2 separate regions of the Homo sapiens genome follow, and region 2 is linked to region 1. The links are contacts of gene promoters, found by promoter capture Hi-C in human tissues and cell types (Jung and others, 2019). All regions are on one chromosome and are shown on one strand. Each heading gives the region's core, a stretch centred on a gene start or on the middle of the fragment in contact. The rest is flanking DNA. Distances are from core to core; before and after follow the strand shown. Region 1 holds the start of TIMM8B (translocase of inner mitochondrial membrane 8 homolog B). Region 2 overlaps IL18 (interleukin 18).

Evidence for each region. Contacts are between HindIII fragments. The study calls those that stand out against the background at their distance.
Region 2: a contact is called between a fragment that was not itself captured here and the fragment with the promoter of TIMM8B in region 1, in 1 of the 25 tissues and cell types used here (aorta).

Annotation. Positions count from the first base shown.
Region 1 is chr11:112,085,001-112,088,005 of GRCh38, reverse strand. TIMM8B (translocase of inner mitochondrial membrane 8 homolog B) reads left to right here and starts at 1,250. Exons shown (of 2, transcript NM_012459.4): 1 at 1,250-1,366; 2 at 2,544-3,005. The coding sequence starts at 1,283. The coding sequence ends at 2,711. SDHD (succinate dehydrogenase complex subunit D) reads right to left here and starts at 1,133. Exons shown (of 4, transcript NM_003002.4): 1 at 1,047-1,133; 2 at 33-149. The coding sequence starts at 1,098. NKAPD1 (NKAP domain containing 1) reads right to left here. Exons shown (of 6, transcript NM_018195.4): 6 at 2,856-3,005. RefSeq lists enhancers at 1-169, 863-1,132, 496-1,695. The HindIII fragment of the contact is 14,912 bases long and covers 1-3,005 here.
Region 2 is chr11:112,142,686-112,150,510 of GRCh38, reverse strand. It overlaps IL18 (interleukin 18), which reads left to right. Exons shown (of 6, transcript NM_001562.4): 4 at 305-439; 5 at 1,775-1,908; 6 at 6,694-7,251. The coding sequence ends at 6,915. Among named protein-coding and RNA genes, the nearest start is that of IL18, 17 kb to the left of the region's middle. RefSeq lists enhancers at 4,279-4,448, 7,014-7,183. The HindIII fragment of the contact is 3,672 bases long and covers 1,366-5,037 here.

The DNA.
Region 1 (3,005 bases), core at 1-2,500:
CCCAGAAAGCAGCAGCGATGGAGAGAACATACAATGGTGGCTCGGTGACAAGTGTATGTGCTGCACTCCACACCATTCTGGGATAGGTCGGTCCTGAAGAAATGCTGAGATATGAGCAGGTCTGACCACTGGAGTTCGAAGCAACAGAGCTGAGGAAAGAGTCATTAGGATGATCATAAGAACCTCTCCTTTAACAGGACTGACAAACTTTCTAAATGACCATAGGTAAGCTACTTAACAATAAATAGGGGATAACATCTTATTTGTAAAATGAAGATAGCATCTATTTCACTGGGGTTACTGTGAAGTTAAGACCAGGGAACATCTGCATGTTCCCTACTTTATTTAATGACACCTCAGGCATTCTTTAACCTAACTCAGTAATCTGGAAATCATGAGAGACTTTTCCCCTAAATTCAATCGCCAAATCCTATTGGCGTATCTCTTTAACAGTTCTTGAGACAATCTTCTTTTCTTTGTGCTACTTTCCTAGTTCAGGACCTCATCTTGCCCGGACTACTATGACAGTGTTTTCCTCATCAGAATGAAAGCTCGTTGAGGGCGGGAACTACGTTTTCTTCACATTTGTATCCTAGCATTACTACAGTACCTGAGGTAACACAAATGCCCAGGTTAAATGATTTTCGAACTGATCCCCCCTCCACTCCCACATCCAAACACACCAACTCCAGAAGAAATGGGCAAGCTCCTAACCCTCTTTCCCGACTCAGGGTGGGAGCGAGTGGGGAGCATTCTAGGGACAGTGAACGGGGAGAAAACAGAACTGCTATGTGGATTAGCCTCATCAGGACTGCGACTTCCAGAGGGAGCTCTCTTTCTGATTATTCCCTCAACTCGTCAGCTCACAGCAAGTGAAATATACCTTCGGGTAAACATCTGGACCCCTAGACTACAGTGGTCATTGCTGTGATTTCGGTATTTTCTTCTCCTCAAGAGATCTCCCACCCGGCAGATGAGTCCTCACTTCCATCCCCTTCCCTGGCTGGAGGCTACGCTAAGCACCTCAGGGTGGGAAGACCCCTCACCTCGGCCTCCTAGGGCACCGCAAACGGCACTCAGCCTCCAGAGAACCGCCATCTCGTTCCTGAGGGCTCAAGGTCATCCACCAACCCGGAACCACTTAGGCGACAATTCCCACCCACGACGACGAAAGAAAACAGGGAAGAGGAAATGCTGGGTGAACCGGAAGTCGAGAGGCGGTGCACACCCGTCGCGCATGCGCAAACACAGCTGTCGGAAGGTGGCGAGCCTGAGGCGAACAATGGCGGAGCTGGGCGAAGCCGATGAAGCGGAGTTGCAGCGCCTGGTGGCCGCCGAGCAGCAGAAGGCGCAGTTTACTGCACAGGTGCGGGGACGGGGAGGGTGAAGGGAAAGGAAGTTTCACCTTCCTTGGTGGTCCTGGGCACGCTCGGAGGTCTGTACACTGGCGGCTCACTGGTGCTCGATCCCGGCTGCATCCCATTCCCCTCACGAAAGACAAAGTTATGGCTCTCCTGTCCCTGGTGACCGGTAGTGCTCAGGTGCCAGGTATATAAGCGTAGCGTGGAGAAAAGAAAAGGTGTAAAACAGGGAAGATTTGGGCGACGCAAGGGTACGGGAGACTAGTTAGCCGGCGACATGACTGGGCTGGCATTCGAAAGATCTGGGTTCTCATCCTCCCTCTGCTCCTTGCAGGCCACGTGCCCGTAGAAAAGATACTCATCCACTGTGGGTTTTGGTGTCGCCGTCACCCCACTGCCTCACTGGATTGTGAGGATCATATGCGACAATGTATTTGAAAACGACTAGAACATTATCGGAGGAAGGTGGACTCTGAAGTAGTCGCTGTAGACTATGGATGTAGAACAAGGGTTTGGAGCCCTTCGGACATGGTTCTAACGCGGCCTGACTTCTTGCTGGCTACATGACCTTGGACTACATAATCACGCCTCTTAAATGGGAGGTGATGACAGCTATCCTTGAGGACCTTAGAGAGAACTGATTTCTTAGTACCCAGCCTCACAAATAGTAAGCTCTTGGTAAAATGGTTTTTTCCTTTTGGGTGGGAGGAAGAGGGTGCTCGGATGACCAGCAAGAACCCTGGCTAGAAATCTTTGGGCCCTGAACATTCTAATGACAGTGCACATAATTTCTGTGCCTGTATGTGCATTTTTCTGGGGAGTGGATCCATAACCCCCAAAAGGTTAATGGAAGAATTACCTTGTCTAGGGGATAGGTTTGGAATAAAATGAGTGCAATAGTTTGGGAAAATTAATTGGTTCCCTAGTTGGTTCACAATGGTGCTAGCTACTTTGGGGAATATAAAAGGTTATTAGTCCTACCTGAGAATGTACAATCTGTAGGGACGAGGATCTGGATCAATATTGGTGACTAATTAGGAAATGAAGAAAGAGAAGAGCCCAAAGTGACTCCGTGGTTGATTTAAAGAATGGTTTTGTCAGGTGTCAAAAAGTGAGAAGTTAATAAACAAGAGTTAGGCCTATCTGCAGACCCCAATGGTTACTATTTTTCTTTCCTTTTAGGTGCATCACTTCATGGAGTTATGTTGGGATAAATGTGTGGAGAAGCCAGGGAATCGCCTAGACTCTCGCACTGAAAATTGTCTCTCCAGCTGTGTAGACCGCTTCATTGACACCACTCTTGCCATCACCAGTCGGTTTGCCCAGATTGTACAGAAAGGAGGGCAGTAGGCCATCCCCCAGGAGAATGACAGAAGCAAAGGACTTGTTACTAAGCAGATTTAAGGGTCAGTGGGGGAAGGCTATCAACCCATTGTCAGATCAGCATCAGGCTGTTATCAAGTCTGTTGGTGCTAAAAAGTAAAAGATGAAATGTTCAAAGAGTGAAATTTATTTATTTGGAATTCAGAAATTCCAGGTTGTATGACATCAGTTACTCAATAAGTGTGAATTCTCCAACTCTTCTTTTAATCCCATTTTAGAATTTAATATAGAGATCTCTGATTGGCAGGAACACTAGAAATA
Region 2 (7,825 bases), core at 1,952-4,451, 61 kb before region 1:
TTGTGAAATTTAAGAACACATAGAGTTGGAGTAAAAGTGTAAGAAAACTAGAAGGGTAAGAGACCGGTCAGAAAGTAGGCTATTTGAAGTTAACACTTCAGAGGCAGAGTAGTTCTGAATGGTAACAAGAAATTGAGTGTGCCTTTGAGAGTAGGTTAAAAAACAATAGGCAACTTTATTGTAGCTACTTCTGGAACAGAAGATTGTCATTAATAGTTTTAGAAAACTAAAATATATAGCATACTTATTTGTCAATTAACAAAGAAACTATGTATTTTTAAATGAGATTTAATGTTTATTGTAGAAAACCTGGAATCAGATTACTTTGGCAAGCTTGAATCTAAATTATCAGTCATAAGAAATTTGAATGACCAAGTTCTCTTCATTGACCAAGGAAATCGGCCTCTATTTGAAGATATGACTGATTCTGACTGTAGAGGTATTTTTTTTAATTCGCAAACATAGAAATGACTAGCTACTTCTTCCCATTCTGTTTTACTGCTTACATTGTTCCGTGCTAGTCCCAATCCTCAGATGAAAAGTCACAGGAGTGACAATAATTTCACTTACAGGAAACTTTATAAGGCATCCACGTTTTTTAGTTGGGGTAAAAAATTGGATACAATAAGACATTGCTAGGGGTCATGCCTCTCTGAGCCTGCCTTTGAATCACCAATCCCTTTATTGTGATTGCATTAACTGTTTAAAACCTCTATAGTTGGATGCTTAATCCCTGCTTGTTACAGCTGAAAATGCTGATAGTTTACCAGGTGTGGTGGCATCTATCTGTAATCCTAGCTACTTGGGAGGCTCAAGCAGGAGGATTGCTTGAGGCCAGGACTTTGAGGCTGTAGTACACTGTGATCGTACCTGTGAATAGCCACTGCACTCCAGCCTGGGTGATATACAGACCTTGTCTCTAAAATTAAAAAAAAAAAAAAAAAAAAAAAAACTTAAGAAAAGAAAATGATCAAGTCTACTGTGCCTTCCAAAATATGAATTCCAAATATCAAAGTTAGGCTGAGTTGAAGCAGTGAATGTGCATTCTTTAAAAATACTGAATACTTACCTTAACATATATTTTAAATATTTTATTTAGCATTTAAAAGTTAAAAACAATCTTTTAGAATTCATATCTTTAAAATACTCAAAAAAGTTGCAGCGTGTGTGTTGTAATACACATTAAACTGTGGGGTTGTTTGTTTGTTTGAGATGCAGTTTCACTCTGTCACCCAGGCTGAAGTGCAGTGCAGTGCAGTGGTGTGATCTCGGCTCACTACAACCTCCACCTCCCACGTTCAAGCGATTCTCATGCCTCAGTCTCCCGAGTAGGTGGGATTACAGGCATGCACCACTTACACCCGGCTAATTTTTGTATTTTTAGTAGAGCTGGGGTTTCACCATGTTGGCCAGGCTGGTCTCAAACCCCTAACCTCAAGTGATCTGCCTGCCTCAGCCTCCCAAACAAACAAACAACCCCACAGTTTAATATGTGTTACAACACACATGCTGCAACTTTTATGAGTATAATGATATAGATTATAAAAGGTTGTTTTTAACTTTTAAATGCTGGGATTACAGGCATGAGCCACTGTGCCAGGCCTGAACTGTGTTTTTAAAAATGTCTGACCAGCTGTACATAGTCTCCTGCAGACTGGCCAAGTCTCAAAGTGGGAACAGGTGTATTAAGGACTATCCTTTGGTTAAATTTCCGCAAATGTTCCTGTGCAAGAATTCTTCTAACTAGAGTTCTCATTTATTATATTTATTTCAGATAATGCACCCCGGACCATATTTATTATAAGTATGTATAAAGATAGCCAGCCTAGAGGTATGGCTGTAACTATCTCTGTGAAGTGTGAGAAAATTTCAACTCTCTCCTGTGAGAACAAAATTATTTCCTTTAAGGTAAGACTGAGCCTTACTTTGTTTTCAATCATGTTAATATAATTAATATAATTAGAAATATAACATTATTTCTAATGTTAATATAAGTAATGTAATTAGAAAACTCAAATATCCTCAGACCAACCTTTTGTCTAGAACAGAAATAACAAGAAGCAGAGAACCATTAAAATGAATACTTACTAAAAATTATCAAACTCTTTACCTATTGTGATAATGATGGTTTTTCTGAGCCTGTCACAGGGAAGAGGAGATACAACACTTGTTTTATGACCTGCATCTCCTGAACAATCAGTCTTTATACAAATAATAATGTAGAATACATATGTGAGTTATACATTTAAGAATAACATGTGACTTTCCAGAATGAGTTCTGCTATGAAGAATGAAGCTAATTATCCTTCTATATTTCTACACCTTTGTAAATTATGATAATATTTTAATCCCTAGTTGTTTTGTTGCTGATCCTTAGCCTAAGTCTTAGACACAAGCTTCAGCTTCCAGTTGATGTATGTTATTTTTAATGTTAATCTAATTGAATAAAAGTTATGAGATCAGCTGTAAAAGTAATGCTATAATTATCTTCAAGCCAGGTATAAAGTATTTCTGGCCTCTACTTTTTCTCTATTATTCTCCATTATTATTCTCTATTATTTTTCTCTATTTCCTCCATTATTGTTAGATAAACCACAATTAACTATAGCTACAGACTGAGCCAGTAAGAGTAGCCAGGGATGCTTACAAATTGGCAATGCTTCAGAGGAGAATTCCATGTCATGAAGACTCTTTTTGAGTGGAGATTTGCCAATAAATAACCGCTTTCATGCCCACCCAGTCCCCACTGAAAGACAGTTAGGATATGACCTTAGTGAAGGTACCAAGGGGCAACTTGGTAGGGAGAAAAAAGCCACTCTAAAATATAATCCAAGTAAGAACAGTGCATATGCAACAGATACAGCCCCCAGACAAATCCCTCAGCTATCTCCCTCCAACCAGAGTGCCACCCCTTCAGGTGACAATTTGGAGTCCCCATTCTAGACCTGACAGGCAGCTTAGTTATCAAAATAGCATAAGAGGCCTGGGATGGAAGGGTAGGGTGGAAAGGGTTAAGCATGCTGTTACTGAACAACATAATTAGAAGGGAAGGAGATGGCCAAGCTCAAGCTATGTGGGATAGAGGAAAACTCAGCTGCAGAGGCAGATTCAGAAACTGGGATAAGTCCGAACCTACAGGTGGATTCTTGTTGAGGGAGACTGGTGAAAATGTTAAGAAGATGGAAATAATGCTTGGCACTTAGTAGGAACTGGGCAAATCCATATTTGGGGGAGCCTGAAGTTTATTCAATTTTGATGGCCCTTTTAAAGAAAAAGAATGTGGCTGGGCGTGGTGGCTCACACCTGTAATCCCAGCACTTTGGGAGGCCGAGGGGGGCGGATCACCTGAAGTCAGGAGTTCAAGACCAGCCTGACCAACATGGAGAAACCCCATCTCTACTAAAAATACAAAATTAGCTGGGCGTGGTGGCATATGCCTGTAATCCCAGCTACTCGGGAGGCTGAGGCAGGAGAATCTTTTGAACCCGGGAGGCAGAGGTTGCGATGAGCCTAGATCGTGCCATTGCACTCCAGCCTGGGCAACAAGAGCAAAACTCGGTCTCAAAAAAAAAAAAAAAAAAAAGTAAAATTACCAAAGGCATAAGCTTAATAATTTAATTCAAATTTTAATTCAAATTTTAAAAAGGGCGGGGGGTGGCTGGAAGAGATCTGTGCAAATGAGGGAATCTGACATTTAAGCTTCATCAGCATCATAGCAAATCTGCTTCTGGAAGGAACTCAATAAATATTAGTTGGAGGGGGGGAGAGAGTGAGGGGTGGACTAGGACCAGTTTTAGCCCTTGTCTTTAATCCCTTTTCCTGCCACTAATAAGGATCTTAGCAGTGGTTATAAAAGTGGCCTAGGTTCTAGATAATAAGATACAACAGGCCAGGCACAGTGGCTCATGCCTATAATCCCAGCACTTTGGGAGGGCAAGGCGAGTGTCTCACTTGAGATCAGGAGTTCAAGACCAGCCTGGCCAGCATGGCGATACTCTGTCTCTACTAAAAAAAATACAAAAATTAGCCAGGCATGGTGGCATGCACCTGTAATCCCAGCTACTCGTGAGCCTGAGGCAGAAGAATCGCTTGAAACCAGGAGGTGTAGGCTGCAGTGAGCTGAGATCGCACCACTGCACTCCAGCCTGGGCGACAGAATGAGACTTTGTCTCAAAAAAAGAAAAAGATACAACAGGCTACCCTTATGTGCTCACCTTTCACTGTTGATTACTAGCTATAAAGTCCTATAAAGTTCTTTGGTCAAGAACCTTGACAACACTAAGAGGGATTTGCTTTGAGAGGTTACTGTCAGTGTCTGTTTCATATATATACATATACATGTATATATGTATCTATATCCAGGCTTGGCCAGGGTTCCCTCAGACTTTCCAGTGCACTTGGGAGATGTTAGGTCAATATCAACTTTCCCTGGATTCAGATTCAACCCCTTCTGATGTAAAAAAAAAAAAAAAAAAAAGAAAGAAATCCCTTTCCCCTTGGAGCACTCAAGTTTCACCAGGTAGGGCTTTCCAAGTTGGGGGTTCTCCAAGGTCATTGGGATTGCTTTCACATCCATTTGCTATGTACCTTCCCTATGATGGCTGGGAGTGGTCAACATCAAAACTAGGAAAGCTACTGCCCAAGGATGTCCTTACCTCTATTCTGAAATGTGCAATAAGTGTGATTAAAGAGATTGCCTGTTCTACCTATCCACACTCTCGCTTTCAACTGTAACTTTCTTTTTTTCTTTTTTTCTTTTTTTCTTTTTTTTTGAAACGGAGTCTCGCTCTGTCGCCCAGGCTAGAGTGCAGTGGCACGATCTCAGCTCACTGCAAGCTCTGCCTCCCGGGTTCACGCCATTCTCCTGCCTCACCCTCCCAAGCAGCTGGGACTACAGGCGCCTGCCACCATGCCCAGCTAATTTTTTGTATTTTTAGTAGAGACGGGGTTTCACCGTGTTAGCCAGGATGGTCTCGATCTCCTGAACTTGTGATCCGCCCGCCTCAGCCTCCCAAAGTGCTGGGATTACAGGCGTGAGCCATCGCACCCGGCTCAACTGTAACTTTCTATACTGGTTCATCTTCCCCTGTAATGTTACTAGAGCTTTTGAAGTTTTGGCTATGGATTATTTCTCATTTATACATTAGATTTCAGATTAGTTCCAAATTGATGCCCACAGCTTAGGGTCTCTTCCTAAATTGTATATTGTAGACAGCTGCAGAAGTGGGTGCCAATAGGGGAACTAGTTTATACTTTCATCAACTTAGGACCCACACTTGTTGATAAAGAACAAAGGTCAAGAGTTATGACTACTGATTCCACAACTGATTGAGAAGTTGGAGGTAACCCCGTGACCTCTGCCATCCAGAGTCTTTCAGGCTCTTTGAAGGATGAAGAAATGCTATTTTAATTTTGGAGGTTTCTCTATCAGTGCTTAGGATCATGGGAATCTGTGCTGCCATGAGGCCAAAATTAAGTCCAAAACATCTACTGGTTCCAGGATTAACATGGAAGAACCTTAGGTGGTGCCCACATGTTCTGATCCATCCTGCAAAATAGACATGCTGCACTAACAGGAAAAGTGCAGGCAGCACTACCAGTTGGATAACCTGCAAGATTATAGTTTCAAGTAATCTAACCATTTCTCACAAGACCCTATTCTGTGACTGAAACATACAAGAATCTGCATTTGGCCTTCTAAGGCAGGGCCCAGCCAAGGAGACCATATTCAGGACAGAAATTCAAGACTACTATGGAACTGGAGTGCTTGGCAGGAAGACAGAGTCAAGGACTGCCAACTGAGCCAATACAGCAGGCTTACACAGGAACCCAGGGCCTAGCCCTACAACAATTATTGGGTCTATTCACTGTAAGTTTTAATTTCAGGCTCCACTGAAAGAGTAAGCTAAGATTCCTGGCACTTTCTGTCTCTCTCACAGTTGGCTCAGAAATGAGAACTGGCCAGGCCAGGCATGGTGGCTTACACCTGGAATCCCAGCACTTTGGGAGGCCGAAGTGGGAGGGTCACTTGAGGCCAGGAGTTCAGGACCAGCCTAGGCAACAAAGTGAGATACCCCCTGACCCCTTCTCTACAAAAATAAATTTTAAAAATTAGCCAAATGTGGTGGTGTATACTTACAGTCCCAGCTACTCAGGAGGCTGAGGCAGGGGGATTGCTTGAGCCCAGGAATTCAAGGCTGCAGTGAGCTATGATTTCACCACTGCACTTCTGGCTGGGCAACAGAGCGAGACCCTGTCTCAAAGCAAAAAGAAAAAGAAACTAGAACTAGCCTAAGTTTGTGGGAGGAGGTCATCATCGTCTTTAGCCGTGAATGGTTATTATAGAGGACAGAAATTGACATTAGCCCAAAAAGCTTGTGGTCTTTGCTGGAACTCTACTTAATCTTGAGCAAATGTGGACACCACTCAATGGGAGAGGAGAGAAGTAAGCTGTTTGATGTATAGGGGAAAACTAGAGGCCTGGAACTGAATATGCATCCCATGACAGGGAGAATAGGAGATTCGGAGTTAAGAAGGAGAGGAGGTCAGTACTGCTGTTCAGAGATTTTTTTTATGTAACTCTTGAGAAGCAAAACTACTTTTGTTCTGTTTGGTAATATACTTCAAAACAAACTTCATATATTCAAATTGTTCATGTCCTGAAATAATTAGGTAATGTTTTTTTCTCTATAGGAAATGAATCCTCCTGATAACATCAAGGATACAAAAAGTGACATCATATTCTTTCAGAGAAGTGTCCCAGGACATGATAATAAGATGCAATTTGAATCTTCATCATACGAAGGATACTTTCTAGCTTGTGAAAAAGAGAGAGACCTTTTTAAACTCATTTTGAAAAAAGAGGATGAATTGGGGGATAGATCTATAATGTTCACTGTTCAAAACGAAGACTAGCTATTAAAATTTCATGCCGGGCGCAGTGGCTCACGCCTGTAATCCCAGCCCTTTGGGAGGCTGAGGCGGGCAGATCACCAGAGGTCAGGTGTTCAAGACCAGCCTGACCAACATGGTGAAACCTCATCTCTACTAAAAATACAAAAAATTAGCTGAGTGTAGTGACGCATGCCCTCAATCCCAGCTACTCAAGAGGCTGAGGCAGGAGAATCACTTGCACTCCGGAGGTAGAGGTTGTGGTGAGCCGAGATTGCACCATTGCGCTCTAGCCTGGGCAACAACAGCAAAACTCCATCTCAAAAAATAAAATAAATAAATAAACAAATAAAAAATTCATAATGTGAACTGTCTGAATTTTTATGTTTAGAAAGATTATGAGATTATTAGTCTATAATTGTAATGGTGAAATAAAATAAATACTAGTCTTGAAAAACATCATTAAGAAATGAATGAACTTTCACAAAAGCAAACAAACAGACTTTCCCTTATTTAAGTGAATAAAATAAAATAAAATAAAATAATGTTTAAAAAATTCATAGTTTGAAAACATTCTACATTGTTAATTGGCATATTAATTATACTTAATATAATTATTTTTAAATCTTTTGGGTTATTAGTCCTAATGACAAAAGATATTGATATTTGAACTTTCTAATTTTTAAGAATATCGTTAAACCATCAATATTTTTATAAGGAGGCCACTTCACTTGACAAATTTCTGAATTTCCTCCAAAGTCAGTATATTTTTAAAATTCAGTTTGATCCTGAATCCAGCAATATATAAAAGGGATTATATACTCTGGCCAACTGACATTCATCCTAGGAATGCAAAGATGGTTTAATATCCTAAAATCAATTAACATAACATACTATATTAATAAAGTATCAAAACAGTATTCTCATCTTTTTT